Linked DNA regions of Homo sapiens: all the other regions are linked to region 1. Evidence: promoter capture Hi-C in human tissues and cell types (Jung and others, 2019). All regions are on one chromosome and are shown on one strand. Each heading gives the region's core, a stretch centred on a gene start or on the middle of the fragment in contact. The rest is flanking DNA. Distances are from core to core; before and after follow the strand shown.

The links. Contacts are between HindIII fragments. The study calls those that stand out against the background at their distance.
Region 2: a fragment that was not itself captured here is called in contact with the fragment with the promoter of OIT3 in region 1 in 3 of the 25 tissues and cell types used here (dorsolateral prefrontal cortex, mesendoderm cells and pancreas).
Region 3: a contact is called between a fragment that was not itself captured here and the fragment with the promoter of OIT3 in region 1, in 1 of the 25 tissues and cell types used here (aorta).

What each region holds. Positions count from the first base shown.
Region 1 is chr10:72,891,513-72,895,816 of GRCh38, forward strand. OIT3 (oncoprotein induced transcript 3) reads left to right here and starts at 2,227. Exons shown (of 9, transcript NM_152635.3): 1 at 2,227-2,347. The coding sequence starts at 2,287. The HindIII fragment of the contact is 12,875 bases long and covers 1-4,304 here.
Region 2 is chr10:73,022,316-73,026,321 of GRCh38, forward strand. All of the region lies in intron 10 of P4HA1 (prolyl 4-hydroxylase subunit alpha 1), which reads right to left. Among named protein-coding and RNA genes, the nearest start is that of PLA2G12B, 70 kb to the left of the region's middle. The HindIII fragment of the contact is 5,177 bases long and covers 1-4,006 here.
Region 3 is chr10:73,090,270-73,094,500 of GRCh38, forward strand. The region is part of intron 1 of P4HA1 (prolyl 4-hydroxylase subunit alpha 1); the gene reads right to left. Among named protein-coding and RNA genes, the nearest start is that of P4HA1, 4.5 kb to the right of the region's middle. The HindIII fragment of the contact is 7,132 bases long and covers 1-4,231 here.

The DNA of each region.
Region 1 (4,304 bases), core at 977-3,476:
GAAGACCATTATGGATAAAAATATATATATATATATATATTTTTTTTTTGAAACGGAGTCTCCCTCTGTTGCCTAGGCTGGAGTCCAGTGGCACAATCTCGGCTCACTGTAACCTCTGCCTCCCAGGTTCAAGTGATTTTCCTGTCTCAGCCTCCCAAGAAGCTGGGATTACAGACGTGCACCATCACACTTGGCTAGTTTTGCATTTTTAATAGAGATGGGGTTTCACCATGTTGGCCGGGCTGGTCTCGAACTCCTGACCTCAGGTGATCCACCCACCTTGGCCTCCCAAAGTGCTGGGATTACAGGTGTGAGCCACTGCACCCAGCTGATAAAAATAAATTTAAGTGACAATCAAAATGCAATATATAAATCTTGTTTGGATCCTGACTCAACCCAGCAATAAAAGGAATATTTGGAACTATTGGAGCAATTTAAATATGGATTGGATATGAGTTAAGGAATTATTACTAATTTTCATAGTTGTAATAAAAGCATCATGATTATGTAAAAAAATACAATGTGTTAGAAATGCATACTGGTATGTAAATGAAATTGATAGAATGTTAGTAATTATTATAGCTGAGTGTTCATTATTGTTCTTTATACTTTTGTATATATATTTGAAATTTTTCATCATAAAAAGTAAAAAATGAAAGAGCAGGTCAACTAAAAAGGAAAAAATAGAAATAAGGGGGAAAAAACATCTTACCATCCTGGGAATTCTTGTTTACAGAACCAAAGGCTATCTGGTGAAAGTCCTTGACTCCAGCAATCAATCCTGGCAACAAGTCTGGGTTTATCTCATGCACACGTCCTCTGTTTCTCTGCAACACATATGAAGCCCTCAGATGGCTTCCTAGGCGCAGGAAGTTGTGGGGGATTGTTTTTTCTGTTTAAAGCACTGATACTTAGCAACACTATCCTGCAATGAGACAGCAGAGTCATCCATTGCTGCCATCAAACCACAACTTAATAAGTTAATGGTCAAATTGCCTGTGTCCCACTGATGTTAGTAATGAAGTAGCTAACTACAATTTTAGATCAATGGAAACCCCTTGCTTGACCATAAACCCTGTGCTTCTGGAGACCATGTGTACTTTTGTCATTGTCAAAAACCAGTGATTGCCCGAGCTCGGTGGCTCACACCTGTAATCCCAGCACTTTGGGAGGCCAAGGCAGGCGGATCACGAGGTCAGGAGATCGAGACCATCCTGGCTAACACAGTGAAACCCTGTCTCTACTAAAAATACAAAAAAATTAGCTGGGCGTGGTGGTGGGCGCCTATAGTCCCAGTTACTTGGGAGGCTGAGGCAGGAGAATGGCGTGAACCCGGGAGGCGAAGCTTGCAATGAGCCGAGATCACACCACTGCACTCCAGCCTGAGCGACAGAGTAAGACTCCGTCTGAAAAAAAAAATTGTGCTAAGAAGCACATTTTCTCTCCTTTGTCTAAAAGTGAAACTTCAGGAAATTTTGACATTTAATTTTCCAGAGTGTTAATTTAATGAGTAGTTTCTAATTTTAAGCTCCTACCCCATCTTAATGTGAGAATTAGTGAAATAAATAACATTAAACCATTTTTTAATTTTGGGAGTAAAGACAATAAAAATATGAGGTATTGCTGCTTGAATTAGTAAAAACACAATTTAAACCTTGTTTCTTTCAGAAGTTTTGAGGCCAAAGACCGTAATAAAACAAACTCAGGAGCTTATTTCAAGAGAATACTGTCCTTGTCTCATACCTGTCCTTACTACTTTGTTTTGTGTGCTATTATAAGCTCCTCAACCATCTGACCAAGACAGTTGCAGTGATTTGGCTTCATCCATTCTCGTTTAGTGTGCAGTGCTATGGCTGCAACATTGTGAAATCAATTCCTAGAAGTCACAAAGCAAGAATTTGACGTGAAGGGATGTCCCTCATTTAGAATTCCCTTCTGGATAAGATACTGGGGTTTCATTGCAGGGAATTCTTGAGAGAAAACAATAGGAGGATGAGGGATTGTGAGTTGTGTTTTTTTTTTTTTTTCCTAAAGAAAACTATTAATAAAGGAACCCTGTTGACAGTGTAAAGCAGTGCTTCTCTCTGGGGCCAAGGCCAGAGCTGTGGACACCTTATCCCACTCATCCTCATCCTCTTCCTCTGATAAAGCCCCTACCAGTGCTGATAAAGTCTTTCTCGTGAGAGCCTAGAGGCCTTAAAAAAAAAAGTGCTTGAAAGAGAAGGGGACAAAGGAACACCAGTATTAAGAGGATTTTCCAGTGTTTCTGGCAGTTGGTCCAGAAGGATGCCTCCATTCCTGCTTCTCACCTGCCTCTTCATCACAGGCACCTCCGTGTCACCCGTGGGTGAGTCTCATGTCAAGAACTTGGCACAATGCACTTTTTGTTGTGGCAATTTGCTATAATGTACAGATGATTAAGAACTAGATTCCAGTACCTTAAATGCTAGCTCTAGAATCTTGTAAGAAAAGTCCCTAATAATCCTTGAAAATAGATTTCCCGAGAATTTCTGTTACATGTTCCATTTAGCCTCTTGCCTGGACTCCAAAATTTCCATGGATCTGCCATATCCCACAGCTTTCACTAGCTAAAGAGTTCCTGGAGTATGTGTAAAAATAATTCTATCTTCTTTGTGTTCTAGGCACTTTATAGTTCCAACTTGAAGAGCCAAAAAAAAAAAAATTAAAGTTGAGCATAGAATTTTTCTTTAATGAAGGCAAGGGACTGAAAGCTCTGTTGCCATGGGGGGCACAGATCTGGATAAACCAAACTCATTAGTCTTTATGTCAGAAAATAAGACTTTTTGCACAGATCGAGTGAATCTTAAATTGTCTCCCTCCTCAGGCTTGGTGCAAAACTGGCCAGTCAGGCAAAGAAAAGTTTCAATTCCAGTTACTAACAGATTTCTCTCTTGCATCTTTTTCTAGTAGAATGTGAGTACTAACTGGAACAGAGGGTGGGGGTGAGATGGAGAGAACCATCCTTCTTGACACTTTTGAGTAGCTCAGTATCTAATTGACCCTGGCTTATTTCTTCATGGTTGCTCTAGTACCTGAAAGGATACACATTAAAAATAGGCTTGTGGCCAGGCACGGTGGCTCACACTTGTAATGCCAGCATTTGAGAGGCCAAGGCGGGTGGATCACCTGAGGTCAGGAGTTCAAGACCAGCCTGGCCAACATGGTGAAACTCCGTCTCTACTAAAAATACATACACACAAAAAAATTAGATGGTCATGGTGTTGCATGCCTGTAATTCCAGCTACTTGGGAGGCTGAGGCGGGAGAATCACTTGAACTCGGGATGTGGAGGTTGCAGTGAGCCGAGATCGAACCACTGCACTCCAGCCTGGGCAACAGAGGGAGACTCCATCTCAAAAAAATAAAAATAAAAATAAAAATGGTGATTTGAGACCCTAAGGAGACCTGACACCTAAAGGTAATGTGGGATCCTGGAACAGAAAGATATGGGTGGAAACTAAGGGAATCTGAATAAGTGTGGACTTGAGTTAATAATCAGGTATCAATAGTGGGTCATTAATGTGACAAAGGTACCATGCCAATGTGTGGTAAATGTATGGCTAAAGGTAACGTGTCATAACAAGGGAAACTGGGTGTGGGGTATGTGGGATCTCTTTGTCCTATCATCTCAATTATGCTGTAAATCCAAAACTATTCCAAAAAATATGCTTGAGCTACCTGTCATTAATCACCCCCTATCTGCTGCCAATAACTAACCCAAGGGTCGCTCAGAAAGTTGTCCTCCCGAAAATCTCCACTCCCCTTTCTTCCCACCCTTCTCCTTACCTATTCTCCCTCTAGTACCTCCTATATTCCCCATTCTTTCCATATACCATCGCCCTTCCCAGATCTTTTCCTCCAACCCCCAGCTCCTCAAGGATGATATTTGGCTCAATGCCAGAAGCATGATAAAGGGGGAACTTTGGGAACTAGAGCTGGTGTTTGCCCTGAGAGGACAGGGGAAGTGAGAGAAGAGGAAAAGAAGGGATGAGAAAGGGGGAAGCAAAGTGGGGTGATGAGGGAGGAGGATGGAAGAGGATGGAGCAGGAAAGGAGGGGCACTTCCCGACCAAGCTCAGGCACAGGGTCGAAAAGGGGCTGTGATTCAGGGGCGGCTGTCTGCCGGATAGGACCTGGAGGGTTGGAGGACTCAACCCTGGGGCGAAAGGGTGGGGACGCAGACATGGTTCCCTGCCCTTGGCCCTGCGTGGTCCTGGTGGAAGACAGCAGAGGGGCAGCTGGCAAGTGGGCATCTTAGCAAACCATTGAGGAGCTTCTGGCAGGC
Region 2 (4,006 bases), core at 581-3,080, 130 kb after region 1:
TGCTGTTCTGCATCCTCTGCTGGTGATACCCAGGCAAACAGCGTCTGGAATGGACCTCCAGCAAACTCCAACAGACCTGCAGCTGAGGGACCTGACTGTTAGAAGGAAAACTAACAGAAAGGAATAGCATCAACATCAACAAAAAGGTCATCTACACCAAAACCCCATCTGTAGGTCACCAACATCGAAGGCCAAAGGTAGACAAAACCACAAAGATGGGGAGAAACCAGAGCAGAAAAGCTGAAACTTCTAAAGATCAGAGCACCTCCTCTCCTCCAAAGGACTGCAGCTCCTCACAAGCAACAGAACAAAGCTGGACAGAGAATGACTTTGATGAGCTGACAGAAGTAGGCTTCAGAAGGTCGGTAATAACAAACCTCCCAGCTAAAGAAGCATGTTCTAAGCCATCGCAAGGAAGCTAAAACCCTTGAAAAAAGGTTAGACGAATGGCTAACTAGAACAAACAGTGTAGAGAAGACCTTGAATGACCTGATGGAGCTGAAAACCATGGCATAAGAACGTCATGGTGCATGCACAAGCTTCGGTAGCCGATTTGATCAAGTGGAACAAAGGGTATCAGTGATTGAAGATGGAATTAATGAAATAAAGCAAGAAGACAAGTTTAGAGAAAAATGAGTAGAAAGAAACAAATAAAGCCTCCAAGAAATATGGGACTATCTAAAAAGACCAAATCTATGTTTGATTGGTGTACACCTGAAAGTGACGGGGAGAATGGAAACAGGCTGAAAAACACTATTCAGGAAATTATCCAGGAGAATTTCCCCAACCTAGCAAGGCAGGCCAACAGTCAAATTCAGAAATACAGAGAACACCACAAAGATACTTCTCGAGAAGAGCAACCACAAGACACGTAATTGTCAGATTCACCAAGGCTGAAATGAAGGAAAAAATCTTAAGGGCAGCCAGAGAGAAAGGTCGGGTTACCCACAAAGGGAGGCCCATCAGACTAACAGTGGATCTCTCTGCAGAAACCCTACAAGCAAGAAGAGAGTGGGGGCCAATATTCAACATTCTTAAAAAAAAGAATTTTCAACCCAGAATTTCATATCCAGCCAAACTAAGCTTTCTAAATAAAGGAGAAATAAAATCCTTTGCAGACAAGCAAATGCTGAGAGATTTTGTCACCACCAGGCCTGTCTTACAAGAGCTCCTGAAGGAAGCACTAAACATGGAAAGGAACAACTGGTACCAGCCACTGCAAAAACATGCCAAATTATAAAGACCATCGATGCTATGAAGAAACCGCATCAATTAACGAGCAAAATAACCAGCGAACATCATAATGACAGGATCAAATTCACATATAACAATATTAGCCTTAAATGTAAATGGGCTAAATGTCCCAATGAAAAGGCACAGACTGGCAAATTGGATAAAGAGTCAAGACCCATCAGGAGACACATCTCATGTGCAGAGACACACATAGGCTCAAAATAAAGGGATGGAGGAAGATCTACGAAGCAAATGGAAAGAAAAAAAAAAAAAAAAGCAGCGGCTGCAATCCTAGTCTCTGATCAAACAGACTTTAAACCAACACAGATCAAAAGAGACAAAGAAGGCCATTACGTAATGGTATAGGGATCAATTCAACAAGAAGTGCTAACTATTCTAAATATATATGCACCCAATACAGGGGCACCCAGATTCATAAGGCAAGTCCTTAGAGTCCTAAAAAGAGACTTAGACTCTCACACAATAATAATGAGAGACTTTAACACTCCACTGTCAATATGAGATCAACAAGACAGAAGGTTAACAAGAATATCCAGGACTGGAACTCAGCTCTGCACTAAGCAGACCATTATAATAGACATCTACAGAACTCTGTCCACCCCAAATCAACAGAATATACATTCTTCTCAGCACCACATCACACTTATTCTAAAACTGACCACATAATTGGAAGTAAAGCACTCCTCAGCAAATGTAAAAGAACAGAAATCACAACAAACTGTCTCTCAGACCACAGTGCAATCAAATTAGAACTCAGGATTAAGAAACTCACTCAAAACCACACAACTACATGGAAACTGAACAACCTGCTCCTGAATGACTACTGGGTAAATAACGAAATGAAGGCAGAAATAAACATGTTCTTTGAAACCAATGAGAACAAAGACACAACGTACCAGAATCTCTGGGACACATTTAAAGCAGTGTAGAGGAAAATTTATAGCACTAAATGCCCACAAGAGAAAGCAAGAAAGACCTAAAATCGACACCCTAACATCACAATTAAAAGAACAAGAGAAGCAAGAGCAAACAAATTCAAAAGCTAGCAGAAGGCAAGAAATAACTCAGATCAAAGCAGAACTGAAAGAGATACAGACATAAAAAACCCTTCAAAAAATCAATGAATCCAGGAGCTGGTTTTTTGAAAAGATCAACAAAATTGATAGACAGCTAGCAAGACTAATAAAGAAGAAAAGAGAGAATAATCAAATAGACACAGTAAAAAATGATAAAGGGGATATCACCACAGATCCCACAGAAATACAAACTACCATCAGAGAATACTATAAACACCTCTATGCAAATAAACTAGAAAATCTAGAAGAAATGGATAAATTCCTGGACACATACACCCAAGACCAAACCAGGAAGAAGTTGAATCTCTGAATAGAAAAATAACAGACTCTGAAATTGAGGCAATAACAGCCTACCAACTAAAAAAAGTTCAGGACCAGATGGATTCACAGCCGAATTCTATCAGAGGTACTAAGAGGAGCTGGTACCATTCCTTCTGAAACTATTCCAATCAACAGAAAAAGAGGGAATCCTCCCTAACTCATTTTATGAGGCCAGTATCATCCTGATACCAAAGCCTGGCAGAGACACAACAAAAAAAGAGAATTTTAGGCCAATATCGCTGATGAACATCGACGCAAAAATCCAACCGAATCCAGCAGCACATCAAAAAGCTTATCCACCACAATCAAGTCAGCTTCATCCCTGGGATGCAAGGCTGGTTCAACATACACAAATCAATAAACGTAATCCATCACATAAACAGAACCAATGACAAAAACCACATGATTATCTCAATAGATGCAGAAAAGGCCTTTGACAAAATTCAACAGCCCTTCATGCTGAAAATGCGGTAAACTAGGTATTGATGGAACATATCTCAAAATAATAAGAGCTATTTATGACAAACCCACAGCCAATATCATACTGAATGGGCAAAAACTGGAAGCACTGTTTGAAATCCGGCACAAGACAAGGATACCCTCCCTCACCACTCCTATTCAACATAGTGTTGGAAGTTCTGGCCAGGGCAATAAGGCAAGAGAAAGAAATAAAGGGTATTCAATTAGGAAAACAGGAAGTCAAATTGTCCCTGTTTGCAGATGACATGATTGTATATTTAGAAAACCCCATTGTCTCAGCCCAAAATCTCCTTAAGCTGATAAGCAACTTCAGCAAAGTCTCAGGATACAAAATCAATGTGCAAAAATCACAAGCATTCCTATATACCAATAACAGACAGAGAGCCAAATCATGAGTGAACTCCCATTCACAATTGCTACAAAGAGAATAAAATACCTAGGAATCCAACTTACAAGGGATGTGAAGAACCTCTTCAAGGAGAACTACAAACCACTGCTCAACGAAATAAAAGAGGACACAAATGGAAGAACATTCCATGCTCATGGATAGGAAGAATCAATATCGTGAAAATGGCCATACTGCCCAAGGTAATTTACAGATTCAATGCCATCCCCATCAAGCTACCAATGACTTTCTTCACAGAATTGGAAAAATCTACTTTAAAGTTCATATGGAACCAAAAAAGAGCCCACATAGCCAAGACAATCCTAAGCCAAAAGAACAAAGCTGGAGGCATCATGCTACCTGACTTCAAACTATACTACAAGGCTACAGTAACCAAAATAGCATAGTACTGGTACCAAAACAGAGACATAGACCAATAGAACAGAACAGAGGCCTCAGAAATAACAACACACATCTACAACCATCTGAT
Region 3 (4,231 bases), core at 275-2,774, 200 kb after region 1:
TACAGGCAGGCACCATCACACCCAGCTAATGTTATTTTATTTTGTGTAGAGATGAAGTCTTTCTATGTCGCCCAGGCTGGTCTGGAACTCCTGGGCTCAAGCAGTCCTCCTGCCTCGGCCACCCAAAGGGTTGGGATTACAGGCCTAAGCCACTGTGCCTGACCTTGAGGATACTCTTGAAGGTGATGGATATGTTCCTTATCTTGATTGTACTGATATTTTTTTAAGTAGATATTTTTGTCAAATTTATCAAATTGTACACTGTAAATATATGCAATTTGTCCTGTCAATTTTGCTCAATAAAGTCGTTAAAATATATCAGTTTATTCAATTTATTAGTAATCACCCTTATATCAAAGATTAGTGTTTTACTTATTACTATCACTCTACTTGGTGGCAATGGTCACTATTCACTATTTTCAAATACAATATTAAGGTTTTTTAAATTCAGGCATAGTAAATTGAGGTCTATTTTCAAAATATCTTTGAGGTTAAAGGAAGTAACTGCAGGCCAGGTGCGGTGGCTCATGCCTGTAATCCCAGCACTTTGGGAGGCCGAGGCTGATGGATCACCCCCGGTCAGGAGTTCGAGACCCGCCCGGCCAAGATGGTGACACCCTGTCTCTACTAAAAATACAAAAAAGTAGTCGGGCGTGGTGGCGGGTGCCTGTAATCCCAGCTACTCGGGAGGCTGAGGCAGAGAATTGCTTGAACCCAGGAGGCAGAGGTTGCCGTGAACCGAGATTGCGCCACTGCACTCCAGCCTGGGTGACAGAGTGAGAGTCCATCTCAAAAAAAAAAAAAAAAAAAAAAAAGAAGTAACTAAATTTTGAAATCATGTAAATTTGAGAATGTCTTCATGTAACCTTTGACTATGAATATGTTGCCTGAGTTTACCAAAAAAATAAATAAATAAATAAATAAATAAATAAAAAGGAGGAAGGTTGTCAGAACCATAGGGCAAGAACAAAGGTCACACACACAAGTAACATTTTGAGGTCCTAAATTCAACCAGTAGGTTTTAGAAATACCAACTTTTTTTGTTTTTTTGAGACAGGGTCTGGCTCTGTCACCCAGGCTGGAGTGGAGTGGAACAATCAGAGCTCACAGCAGCCTTGAACTCCTGGGCTCCAGAGATCTTCCCACCTCAGCCTCCCAAAGCACTGGGATTACAGATGTGAGCCACCACGCCTAGACTAAAATAAACATTTCTTGATCATATTTTTGGAGAAATTAGATATGCAAATCTAGTTAATATAAGATTAGAACTGTAAGAGAAGTCTTGAGCCTACTTAAAATCAGTTAATCAATATTTAATTTATTGTTGCAGACACATGTAACAGGATATCTGATGCTTCATACACTGTTCAATGCCTTTTAATTTTATGACTTGTATGATAGTTCTCGGCTATTCATTCTTGGGTTTTACTGAAGTTCCAAAAATCAAAGAGCTTTGATTCTTGTAATGGAAATATCTAGAGAAACTTGTGTTTAACTGACTCGGCAGAGATGAAGGCCAAATTCTCATATGTACCTATAACATTACTCAAATACTATTCTTAGTACAAAAAAGTTAAATATACTCTTATCTCTGAACATGAGCTATTCAGACCAAGGCCACTCAGGTCAGAGTAGAATACTCAAAAGCTGGCTTTAGCAGTCCCTTTCCTCCTAAAAAATGGATTATTGCTCTGAGGCCCAGGTATACTCAGCTTCATCCCTCCCAAGGCTATTCTGTCAAAATTCCACTTTTATTTCCACCCAGTCTACCTCTTTCTAGTCTTCAATTATCTGTTTACTCTAATGCCAGATCCAAATTTCTCAAGTTGAGGTAAAGAGAGACAAAATAAGACCATGTATACTAGAACAGGGAAAAATGAATTCATGGTTGTAGAGGATGTGAATCTAGATATGCATTTCCATTCAGTGCTACAGATTTAATATCTAGTAAAATGTTAGCCACATGGTGCTATATCATGTAATTTTTATGTCCTACTTCTCCTATGAAACATTTCTCATCATTCTTGATTTTCCTACAGTCTACTGGCCATATTGTAAATAATTTTTTTTTCTTTTCTTTTTTTTTTTTTTTTTTTTAGAGACAGGGTCTTGCACTCTCACCCAGGCTAGAGTGCAATGGTGCTATCATAGCTCACTGCAGCTTCCAACTCTTGGGCTCAAGCGACCCTCCCACCTCAGCCTCCCAAGTAGTTAGACTACAGATGCATGCAACCTCATGCCCCCTTAATTAAAAAAAAATTTTTTTTGTAGAGAGATGGGGTCTCACTATGCTGACCAGGCTGGTCTTGAACTCCTGGCCTCAAGTGATCCTCCTGCCTCGGCCTTCCAAAGTGCTGTGATTACAGGTGTGAGCCACCATGCCTGGGCAACATAGTAAGGCCCTGTCTCTAAAAAAAAAAAAATTTAAATATAAATTTAAAAATTAAAAAATTGGTTAAAGTTTACTGTAATTATACAGGTTGATAAAATAAACCACTAAATTACAGTCCTCTCTTTGCACTACTTATAATGGAGAAACAGCTCAAGTGTCCAACAAGAGAGTAAGGATGACCAGGCATGGTGGCTCACACCTATAATCCCAACACTTTGTGGGGCAGATGGGAGAATCACTTGAGGCCAGGAGTTCGAGACTAGCCTGGTCAACAGAGCAAGATCCCATCTCTACAAAAAATTAAAAAATTAGCTAGACATGGTGGCATGCATCTGTACCCCGAGCTACACCCGGAGGCTGAGGCAGAAGGATTGCTTGAGCCCAGGAGTTCAAGGCTGCAGTGAGCTATGGTCACACCACTGCACTCCATCCTGGGCAACAGAGCAAGATCCTATCTCTTAAAAAAAAAAAAAAAAGAGAGAGTAAGGCTGAGTGTACTAATTCCACATAATATTACTATTTAAGAAAGAAATGAGTAATATGGACACATTTTTATGAAACACTAAACATGAGGAAGAGAAAGGCCCAATATAGAACTCATTCACTGATGACAACTAGGTAAGAAGTCTGAATCTCTATAATGTATTTTTAGCAAATGTCAAATCAAATATACTAACAGTCATACTGATCATCCAAAGGAAGACCAGGAAAAAGAATGTTTTTCACCACACCGAGTTTAAAAACTGCTGGAGTAACCTAAATGAGAGTCCTTTTGAATTGCCAAAGCTTTTCTTTAGGTACAATACTTATTCAACTAGAGAAACTGAAGCTGTCCTAATGACAGGACAGCTTCAATTTATACAAATAAATTTTCTTGAATAGAAACACAAAGCTTTGGCCGGGCACGGTGGCGTGATCACACCTGTAATCCCAGCACTTTGGGAGGCCAAGGCGGGCAGATCACGAGGTAAAGAGATCGAGACCATCCTGGTTAACACGGTGTAACCCCGTCTCTACTAAAAATACAAAAAATTAGCTGGGCGTGATGGTGGGCGGCTGTAGTCCCAGCTACTCGGGAGGCTTAGGCAGGAGAATGGCGTGAACCCGGGAGGTGGAGCTTGCAGTGGGCCGAGATTGCACCACTGCACTCCAGCCTGGGTGGCAGAGTGAAACTCCATCTCAAAAAAAAAAAAAAAAAAAAAAAAAAAAAAAATATATATATATATATATATATATATATATATATACACACACACACACACACACATACTCATTTTATTTGGATTTTTTATATATATTCATATATTTATACACACACAACACATTATGGTTTAATTACAAGATTCAAGATCTCACTGCAAGAAAAGCAATAAAGTTTAATGCCAAGAGCCTATGCAATTTATTTTTGTTTACTTCCAAGCCTGTTCCACTTTCAGAATGGAAAACCAAAGTTAAGTTACCATATATAGGAGAGGGCATGCAATGTGATATACTTTCACAGACTAGACAATTTAGCATTTCAACAATTCTAACAACCTATTAACTTTTGTTAAAACCCTTTTGGCAAAAATGTATTAGGGTCACCCACATATACAAGTCCAGTCAGACTTACATGCCCAGCTCGATTTTCAGAAACATTCAATACTGCCTCAAGACACCTAGATACCCTTAGAGAGTAACTTCACATCTCTTACTTTTTAGGGGTTCTTATAATAAAGTTCATGAATGGACTTGAGTGGGGGGGCAGGAAGTGACATACAAAATTCCATGTAGGGTGTATTTGCATTTTCTGACATAGGACCACACCTTTCATCAGATTCTCAAAGGATTTCATGACCT